Regions from separate parts of the Homo sapiens genome. Here regions 2 and 3 are each linked to region 1. Evidence: promoter capture Hi-C in human tissues and cell types (Jung and others, 2019). All regions are on one chromosome and are shown on one strand. Each heading gives the region's core, a stretch centred on a gene start or on the middle of the fragment in contact. The rest is flanking DNA. Distances are from core to core; before and after follow the strand shown. Region 1 holds the start of KRT6A (keratin 6A). Region 2 overlaps KRT75 (keratin 75). Region 3 overlaps KRT72 (keratin 72).

Region 1 (2,700 bases), core at 83-2,582:
AGAAATGGGACTGCTTTTAAAATAGTAACAAGAGCTTTCCTGAGGCTCTTCTTAGCATGGGAGTTTGTTCTTCCTCCTGCGGTTGCTCATTTATCCATAGGTTCTCACAGAACAATATTGCCCAGGATTGCTCTCCATTCTCCTCATGCACAGTGCTTAATGCATGGACTGGAGAAGTGAAGCTCATTCCTCTGTAAACCAAGCACACTCACCTTTGTCAGCCTGCCCACCCTCCCAGAAGGTGTATATGGATTTGAGATTTCAAGCACTGAGATCAGAAATTAAAATGTGGAATTGACATGTTACATCATCACACTTGTAAGGGCACAATTTTATGATTCACAGCTTCCATATGCCCCTTGACTTTCCCTACACACCCAATTAAACTGTCTGACTCTTGATTCTTAAGAAATGTCAAAATCTGTGGGAATAAAAATCCAGTGAATTCCTTAATGATTTTTATATCACTCATTTTCCGTTGTTTAAATTAAGCTCTATGTAAATGCTCCAAAACAGCAGGGAGAAGGTGTCTATAAATTTCAACTGGAAAGGCAGATTTACATGAGACTAAGCTCAATAGGAAAGCAAGCACTGGAGAGAGAGGTGCAGATATGGAAAGAAACTCCTGGCAGAAGTCAGGTCTCTGAGCACCCTGGGCAATGTCTGCTCCCTTCATTTTAGGTAAACGGCATGTGGGCAGGTGATCACACAGTACACAGAACAAATGTTGCTCCTACAGTGTAAAGACTCAACTCCTCTGTCCCTCTTGCCTGACAAAGGAGGGTTAGATCCCCAAAGCAGACCCCGTTCCTATGTCCAGGACACAAGGGAGGACAGCCAGGAGCTCCAGAAGAACTGGTCCAAATGCAGTGGAAAAAACACAACAGGCTACTTCTTGCTCAGGCCATCGGGCAAATGCCCATACGCCCTCAGGAAGGATCCCACTCAGAGGGTGAGGCTGGTGCAAGTGGAGTAGAAAACCTGTGTGGGAAGGGGGCACACAGGGAGTGTCTGATGAAGAAGAAGGAGGGGACAATTATCACAGATCAGCTCCTTGTCTCCTTTGTTTGAGGACATGACTAACTCATGACTTCAGTGAATGTATACCCGGGCTTATTGTGTTAGGATCAAGTCAAGGCTGGAAGGCAGGAGAATTTCTCTATGACTAAAGGAAGCCAAAAAGCAATCTTCATATTTCATACCTTTCTAGAAACTGGGTGTGATCTCACTGTTGGTAAAGCCCAGCCCTTCCCAACCTGCAAGCTCACCTTCCAGGACTGGGCCCAGCCCATGCTCTCCATATATAAGCTGCTGCCCCGAGCCTGATTCCTAGTCCTGCTTCTCTTCCCTCTCTCCTCCAGCCTCTCACACTCTCCTCAGCTCTCTCATCTCCTGGAACCATGGCCAGCACATCCACCACCATCAGGAGCCACAGCAGCAGCCGCCGGGGTTTCAGTGCCAACTCAGCCAGGCTCCCTGGGGTCAGCCGCTCTGGCTTCAGCAGCGTCTCCGTGTCCCGCTCCAGGGGCAGTGGTGGCCTGGGTGGTGCATGTGGAGGAGCTGGCTTTGGCAGCCGCAGTCTGTATGGCCTGGGGGGCTCCAAGAGGATCTCCATTGGAGGGGGCAGCTGTGCCATCAGTGGCGGCTATGGCAGCAGAGCCGGAGGCAGCTATGGCTTTGGTGGCGCCGGGAGTGGATTTGGTTTCGGTGGTGGAGCCGGCATTGGCTTTGGTCTGGGTGGTGGAGCCGGCCTTGCTGGTGGCTTTGGGGGCCCTGGCTTCCCTGTGTGCCCCCCTGGAGGCATCCAAGAGGTCACCGTCAACCAGAGTCTCCTGACTCCCCTCAACCTGCAAATCGATCCCACCATCCAGCGGGTGCGGGCTGAGGAGCGTGAACAGATCAAGACCCTCAACAACAAGTTTGCCTCCTTCATCGACAAGGTGAGCCAGTGCCATGCCCTCCATGGGGCACTTCAGGGTCCCCAGACCAGAGGAGCAACACCTTCCTGCCAGGGAGACCTAGGAGGGAGGGAGAAGAGGACTCAGCCCAGCTCTGCAGAGAGTGCAGATGGCTGCTGGTGCCCAGCAAGCAGCAGGGATGGGCATCACTCCCCCATGGGATCTCTGGAGTGGCCCTCACTCCTGCCTAGGGAGAACCATAACTTTTCATAACCCTGAAGCACAGATGAGGCCATCAGAGAATGGAGTAGGTTAACTCTTCCCTTTGAAGCGTCAAAGAAAATGCCAGGAGTACACGGGCTGGTAAATTACACTCTGGGGTCTGGATAAGAGGAAAAAATATTGGAAACAAAAGAAAGGATATTTTGGCTAGATTAAGAAAAAAAAGACTTAAAACGTTTATACGTTATGTGGAAATGTTAATTAATCCTCAAAACAAAGAATGACCATAACATCAGGATGTTTTAGAGGAGAGACTTGCACAAATGGGAAATAAGACGGGAATCAAATCATTGGGCAACATTTAACATCTCTTCTAACTGAGGTCCTATCAGTAATAAAAACTGTGTAAAATTTATCAGATGAATACTATTTTATAACTATGTTTGTAATTTTGGCTGGGAAAAGAAGGAAAAGACATGTTGAAACTCATTAATATGTCCAATAACTTAGAGAGTGAGAACACCTGAATGGTCCGTGGGACAATTCCTCTAGTGAGATTGGTGGGGTACAAAGGAGAAGG
Region 2 (2,700 bases), core at 111-2,610, 66 kb after region 1:
GACTTCTCTGACCACCACTTCCCACTTCCAAATCTAGGTCAGATTCCTTCATTACACTCTCCCAGGACCCTGTTCATTTCCTAAGGGCACTTATCTTAGTGTGGAACTATACATTTGATAATATGCTAATTCAGTTAATGTCTATGTCCCCCAATAAACTGTAAGCTTCAGGGGGAATGAGTGAATGACCAGGAATGAATGAGCCTGCTTGTGGCACCCAGGGTGGGTCTGTGTGCACAGCGAGTGCCTGGGCCAGGCATTTGACTCAGTGACTGGGTTTGCTCTGGTTCTCTCAGTACGAGGAGCTGCAGGTCACCGCAGGCAGACATGGGGATGACCTTCGAAACACCAAACAAGAGATCTCTGAAATGAACCGCATGATCCAGAGGCTGAGAGCTGAGATTGACAGCGTCAAGAAGCAGGTAAAGATTTGGCAGGGCCAAGAGCTCCTCAAATGCTCATTTCTTCTGGGCCTTTCTGCCATCTTTAAGAACTCCTCCCCAAGAAGCACCACACCTCCATGGGCTGTCAGCAGGACTCATGGCTTCCTCCTGTCCTTACAGTGTTCCAGCTTGCAAACGGCCATTGCTGATGCAGAGCAGCGGGGAGAACTGGCTCTCAAGGATGCACGGGCCAAGCTGGTGGACCTTGAGGAGGCCCTGCAGAAGGCCAAGCAGGACATGGCTCGGCTCCTGCGTGAGTACCAGGAGCTGATGAACATCAAGCTGGCCCTGGACGTGGAGATCGCCACCTACCGCAAGCTGCTGGAAGGCGAGGAGTGCAGGTGAGGCAGATGCACCAACTTCATCCTCAAAGCAAGTTGAGCTCACCTCAGCTTCCTGGGCATTCCTAGGGGCTCGGGCTGTTGCAGCCCCTTCTTCTCCTGGAAGAAAATGCAGTTCAGAATTGGGCTATGGCAAAAAAATAATTTTAATTTCCTTCCAGGCTAGTAAATCATTTGAGGTGCAACTACAGTTAGCATCCCCATAGAAACCTAAAACCTGATCAGGTCTAAGTAACTGAATTCTACCAAAGGAGACATTTGGTTACATGGCAGCTCTCGAAATGTGGTCTAAAAGGCCATGGGCTGAGAACAAACAGTCCTAGGATTTGGGCTTACAGATCTAACACTAAGTAGCTACATAACCTTGGGAAAGTCAGTCTCCCTTCTCTGGCCCTCAATTTCTTCAATGATAAAATGAAAAGGTCAGATTACATGATCCGCAAAGCTTCATGGGAGCTTTGTGCTCTGCCAGTTAGGAGCTGTGTAGCCAAGAGCAGATACTTAACCTCTCCACCTCTCAGTGTTCTCATCCAATAAAATGTGAATAACAATAGTTCTAAACTCTCACATTATTAAAAGGGTTAAAATAAGGGAATACACACAAAGCTCTTAGAACAATGCATGGTACACAGCGTGTTCGATAAATGTTAGCTATCATTCAGTTTCATGGCCAAAGACATAGGCTTTGGTGTCAGATGAATCTGTCTTCAAGTCCAGCTTTGCGACTATGGGCAAGTTAGTTAACTTGTCTGAGCTTCCATTTCTCCCTCTATAAAAGTGAGCAAATAATACCTACCTCATGGGGTTGTTGAGAGAACTAAGTGGTGTGATATAAGTAACAGGTAATCAACAGCTGTTACCTCTTGTTAAGTTTCTCAGTATGTGTTTATGAATGAATGCCAGTTCTGTCCTGAAGATGCTAAAGCAAAGTTACTTGGTTGCTAAGATAATAATAAACTGATATTACTATTGTTATTTTTATGACTCAGACGCCTCTCCACACCTATATACAATAAGCTCAGCCCTGGCTCAGTGCATGACAATGGTCCCTTGTTGAGAGACAAATCTTATTATAGGACAGGCCCTTCTTTCCAGTTGATGCCAGTATATGATTACTTTTAATTTCCTTAAGGCATCTAACTAGTTTAAACCAAAAATTGTATTTCTGAGATTATAGATTTTGCTCCTGTGAACCTCAAACTCCACCTTATTTTATTCATTAGATTATTAATATTATCTTTAATACTACTAGTTCTCAAATAATTTCAACCTGCATTACTTCTGCAATAAAAATAATAAAGTATGTTTAAATGCTTTGTCAACAATTACAAAAGTGTCATTGCAAAGGCCCTTAAGCTGCTGGCCACATTGGTAACCTTCCTTCTCCCTGCTCTTCCCAATCAGGTTGAGTGGAGAGGGAGTTTCTCCAGTTAACATTTGTGAGTATGACATACTTCTTGGGCCATTTGGAGTGTGTGTGGTAGAGGGGATGGGGATGTGGTGGGCTTGCCAGAGGGTGAAGATATGACGGGTTAGACGGGATCTCACAGACAGCGTTCATTTGGAGAAGGTTTGAGGTTTTGGGTCCCTTAAAAAGCAAGCCATATTAGGAGTCTTTAATGTCACAGTTCTTTCCTCTTTGAGAGTGAGGGTGTCACAGAAGGGGTGATGAGAGGTTTGATGTCATTGTTCTGAGTGGGTTTAAAAGATCCTGGCCACATCTCCTACCTCCCAGAATTCCCTGCCTTTTTGTTGGGGCTGCAAGCCTAGCACAGAGGTGAGCACTTGATGTAGACGGGATTTATGAAAATTCCTGGTCTGGCTTGGACCTTTGAAGGGAGCCTTCATGCTGTGGACAAGAGCATTGCCAACTAGGCAGCTTCTCTCCTAAACAGTTTGAGAAGAAGCTCCACTGC
Region 3 (2,700 bases), core at 199-2,698, 99 kb before region 1:
TCTTCCTAGCCCCTGGCTCCCACCATTCTACTTTCTGTCTCTGACTTAGACTACTCTAAGTATCTCACATGAATGAGATCATTTGTCTTTTGGAATATTTGTCTTTTTTGTGATTGGCTTCTTTCACTTAGCAAAAGGTCCTCAAGGTTCATCCATGTCGTAGCATATTGTAGAATTTTTTTTCTTTCTAAGTCTGAATGATATCCCATTGTATGTATACACCACATTTTGCTTATCCATTTAGCATTAATTATTTCTTACCAATGCTCTATTTCGTTACCATACTCTCACAAATGTCCTGTAATGCATTCTTTGAGAATAATAAGGGATGGAAGAGGTAAGCTCTTTAAATAAAATGGTTAGTACTCTTACCTCCCCAATCAACAATATGTCTGTATTAAGAACATCCCAGTCCTAACCACATTTCTGTGTCTTAGACCTTGCTTCTGTTTCTGCTTCACCTGGAACAGAAATATGTATAAGAAATAGGTATAACATACAGTTTGAAAGTGAGAATGGTGCTTTTGTTTGGTGCCTAGGAGGTTTTTGCACCCTGAGCCATTGCACAGTATTAAGATGCCATGTGCCAGAAGGGAGTGTCTTTTCACCTCTGCTATAATGTGGGAGGGGCTAATTGTGACAGGGAGAGGGACAGTAGAGTCTGCATGACATCTCAACCACAGGTGCTCTCTGAGGCAGGTAGTTTTAAGACAGAATGCACAGGCACAAAGGAGCTGGAAATTGATTCCTTTAACTATGTCCTTGCCTGCATCCTCTTAAGCAAGGTTATGTGTGCCCCAGGGGTATGGGAATCCCAGTTTGAAGACCCCCACCCTGCAGCTCTCAGCACAGAGGTGGTCACTAACTGTTCAGTGAGTGTTTGCAGAACTGAATTACCTCATTGTCTTGCCCCATGCAGGTATGAGGTGGAGATTAACAGACGCACAGCTGCTGAGAATGAGTTTGTGGTGCTCAAGAAGGTAAGAGGGGTGCCAGGTGGGCTGGAAGAAGCCTAGACCTGACCACCTGGCACAATGATGCTTGTAGGGTGAGGAAAGGGGCCCTGTAGGTCACTCAGTCCCTTGGGCAGGGGTGACTGGCACTCTAACTTCCCAGCCCCTCCCTCCAAGTCCCTTGCCTGGGATGCATGCTGTTTCTAGAATTTGCCAGTCTAAAATCTGGGCATTTTACTGCACTACTGGTGTAGCCATTGCACTGCACGTTAGTTGGTTTACTCTCAGGGACTGAAGGGGACTCTCAGGGAGCCCCCCATGAAGCACAGGGTGAAGGGAGAGGAAAGAGCAAGGCTTCCTGTGGCAGGGAGGGAGGGATGGGCAGGGGAGGCCCTCTCAGGGCGGCTTGACTATCATGTGCTCCCAGGACGTGGATGCTGCTTACATGAATAAGGTTGAGCTCCAGGCCAAGGTGGACTCCTTGACAGATGAGATTAAATTCTTCAAGTGCCTTTATGAAGGGGTAAGGACTTGGCTGACCTCTCTTGTGAGATCTGCTCCTTTAACAAGAGGTTTCTGGCCCCTGGCTGGAAGGTGGTGTGGACCAAGAATTGGGAGGGAGAAAGCTTTCAACCTGGTGCCCCTGACATTCACCAAGGCCCTACTGGGTGCTGAACAATGAGCTAGGTTTTGAGGAGTCCGTGAAAGAGAAGAAGTGATTCTTGCCCTCCAGGAGTTCACAGCTTGGCAGGAAAACACCACGTAGCTGAGCTTTCAGAGAGCAGAGGAAGGAATGGTGGGTTCTGCCTGGGCCATCAGTGAAGGTTCTTGGAGAGAGAGGAGAAAGAGGACGATTTCAGTGGGTGCTGAGGGGGGCAGAAAAATAGAAGGTCCAGGAGCCTGTCCTGTGCTAAAGCATGAGGAATGAAGAAGGGCGCAGAGGCCTGGGGAAGGGACTGGTGCTAGTGACTCCCTAGGGGACTTCACATGCTAGGTAAAGAGTTCAGACTTGGTCCTATGGGTGGAGGGTGGCGGTGGCTGGTTTCTGAGGATGAGAATGTAGAAGGGTGCAGGAGTGCTCCTGAGTGTGCAATGGAGAGAGGAGTCTCAGCGTTTGGGGCTGAAAGCCTAAGGCACTTCTTCACGTGCCTGCCAGGCACTGGTGCTGAGGCAGAGTTCAAACGCTGAGGAAAGGCAGAGGGACAGTGAGGAATTTGCCCAGGGAGGACCAAGAGAACTGGTTCCTCATGAGTACCCCTTAACTAGCTCCCCTCCCCCAACCGTCCCCAGGAGATCACTCAGATCCAGTCCCACATCAGCGACACGTCCATCGTCCTGTCAATGGACAACAACCGGGATCTGGACCTGGACAGCATCATTGCCGAGGTCCGTGCCCAGTACGAGGAGATTGCCCTAAAGAGCAAGGCCGAGGCTGAGACCCTGTACCAGACCAAGGTGAGCTGGTGCCAGGTGTGCTGAGTCCCACTGGCCACAGCTAGCACCCTCTCAGTATGTGTGCATGTGTACGTGTGTGTGCGTGTGTTTGTGTGTGTGTGTGTATTTGGGCTCAGTCAAGACCTCCTTTGTCTTGAAGTTGGGCCTTGCGGAAATGCCACCCCAGGGGTAAGGGAGATTAACTACAGTCTTGGCTTGTTTTGCGGACATATATGGGGCTTAGCCCTTCTCCTATCACGGCCCTTGGCTGAGGCCACACCAGCTACAACCCTGATAGGATTCTGACACAGTT

What was found. Contacts are between HindIII fragments. The study calls those that stand out against the background at their distance.
Region 2: a contact is called between a fragment that was not itself captured here and the fragment with the promoter of KRT6A in region 1, in 2 of the 25 tissues and cell types used here (liver and pancreas).
Region 3: a contact is called between a fragment that was not itself captured here and the fragment with the promoter of KRT6A in region 1, in 2 of the 25 tissues and cell types used here (bladder and heart right ventricle).

Annotation. Positions count from the first base shown.
Region 1 is chr12:52,491,889-52,494,588 of GRCh38, reverse strand. KRT6A (keratin 6A) reads left to right here and starts at 1,332. Exons shown (of 9, transcript NM_005554.4): 1 at 1,332-1,940. The coding sequence starts at 1,401. The HindIII fragment of the contact is 9,834 bases long and covers 1-2,700 here.
Region 2 is chr12:52,426,340-52,429,039 of GRCh38, reverse strand. It overlaps KRT75 (keratin 75), which reads left to right. Exons shown (of 9, transcript NM_004693.3): 6 at 297-422; 7 at 564-784; 8 at 2,189-2,223. Among named protein-coding and RNA genes, the nearest start is that of KRT75, 6.7 kb to the left of the region's middle. The HindIII fragment of the contact is 7,225 bases long and covers 1-2,700 here.
Region 3 is chr12:52,591,172-52,593,871 of GRCh38, reverse strand. It overlaps KRT72 (keratin 72), which reads left to right. Exons shown (of 9, transcript NM_080747.3): 3 at 920-980; 4 at 1,381-1,476; 5 at 2,244-2,408. Among named protein-coding and RNA genes, the nearest start is that of KRT72, 8.9 kb to the left of the region's middle. The HindIII fragment of the contact is 4,708 bases long and covers 1-2,700 here.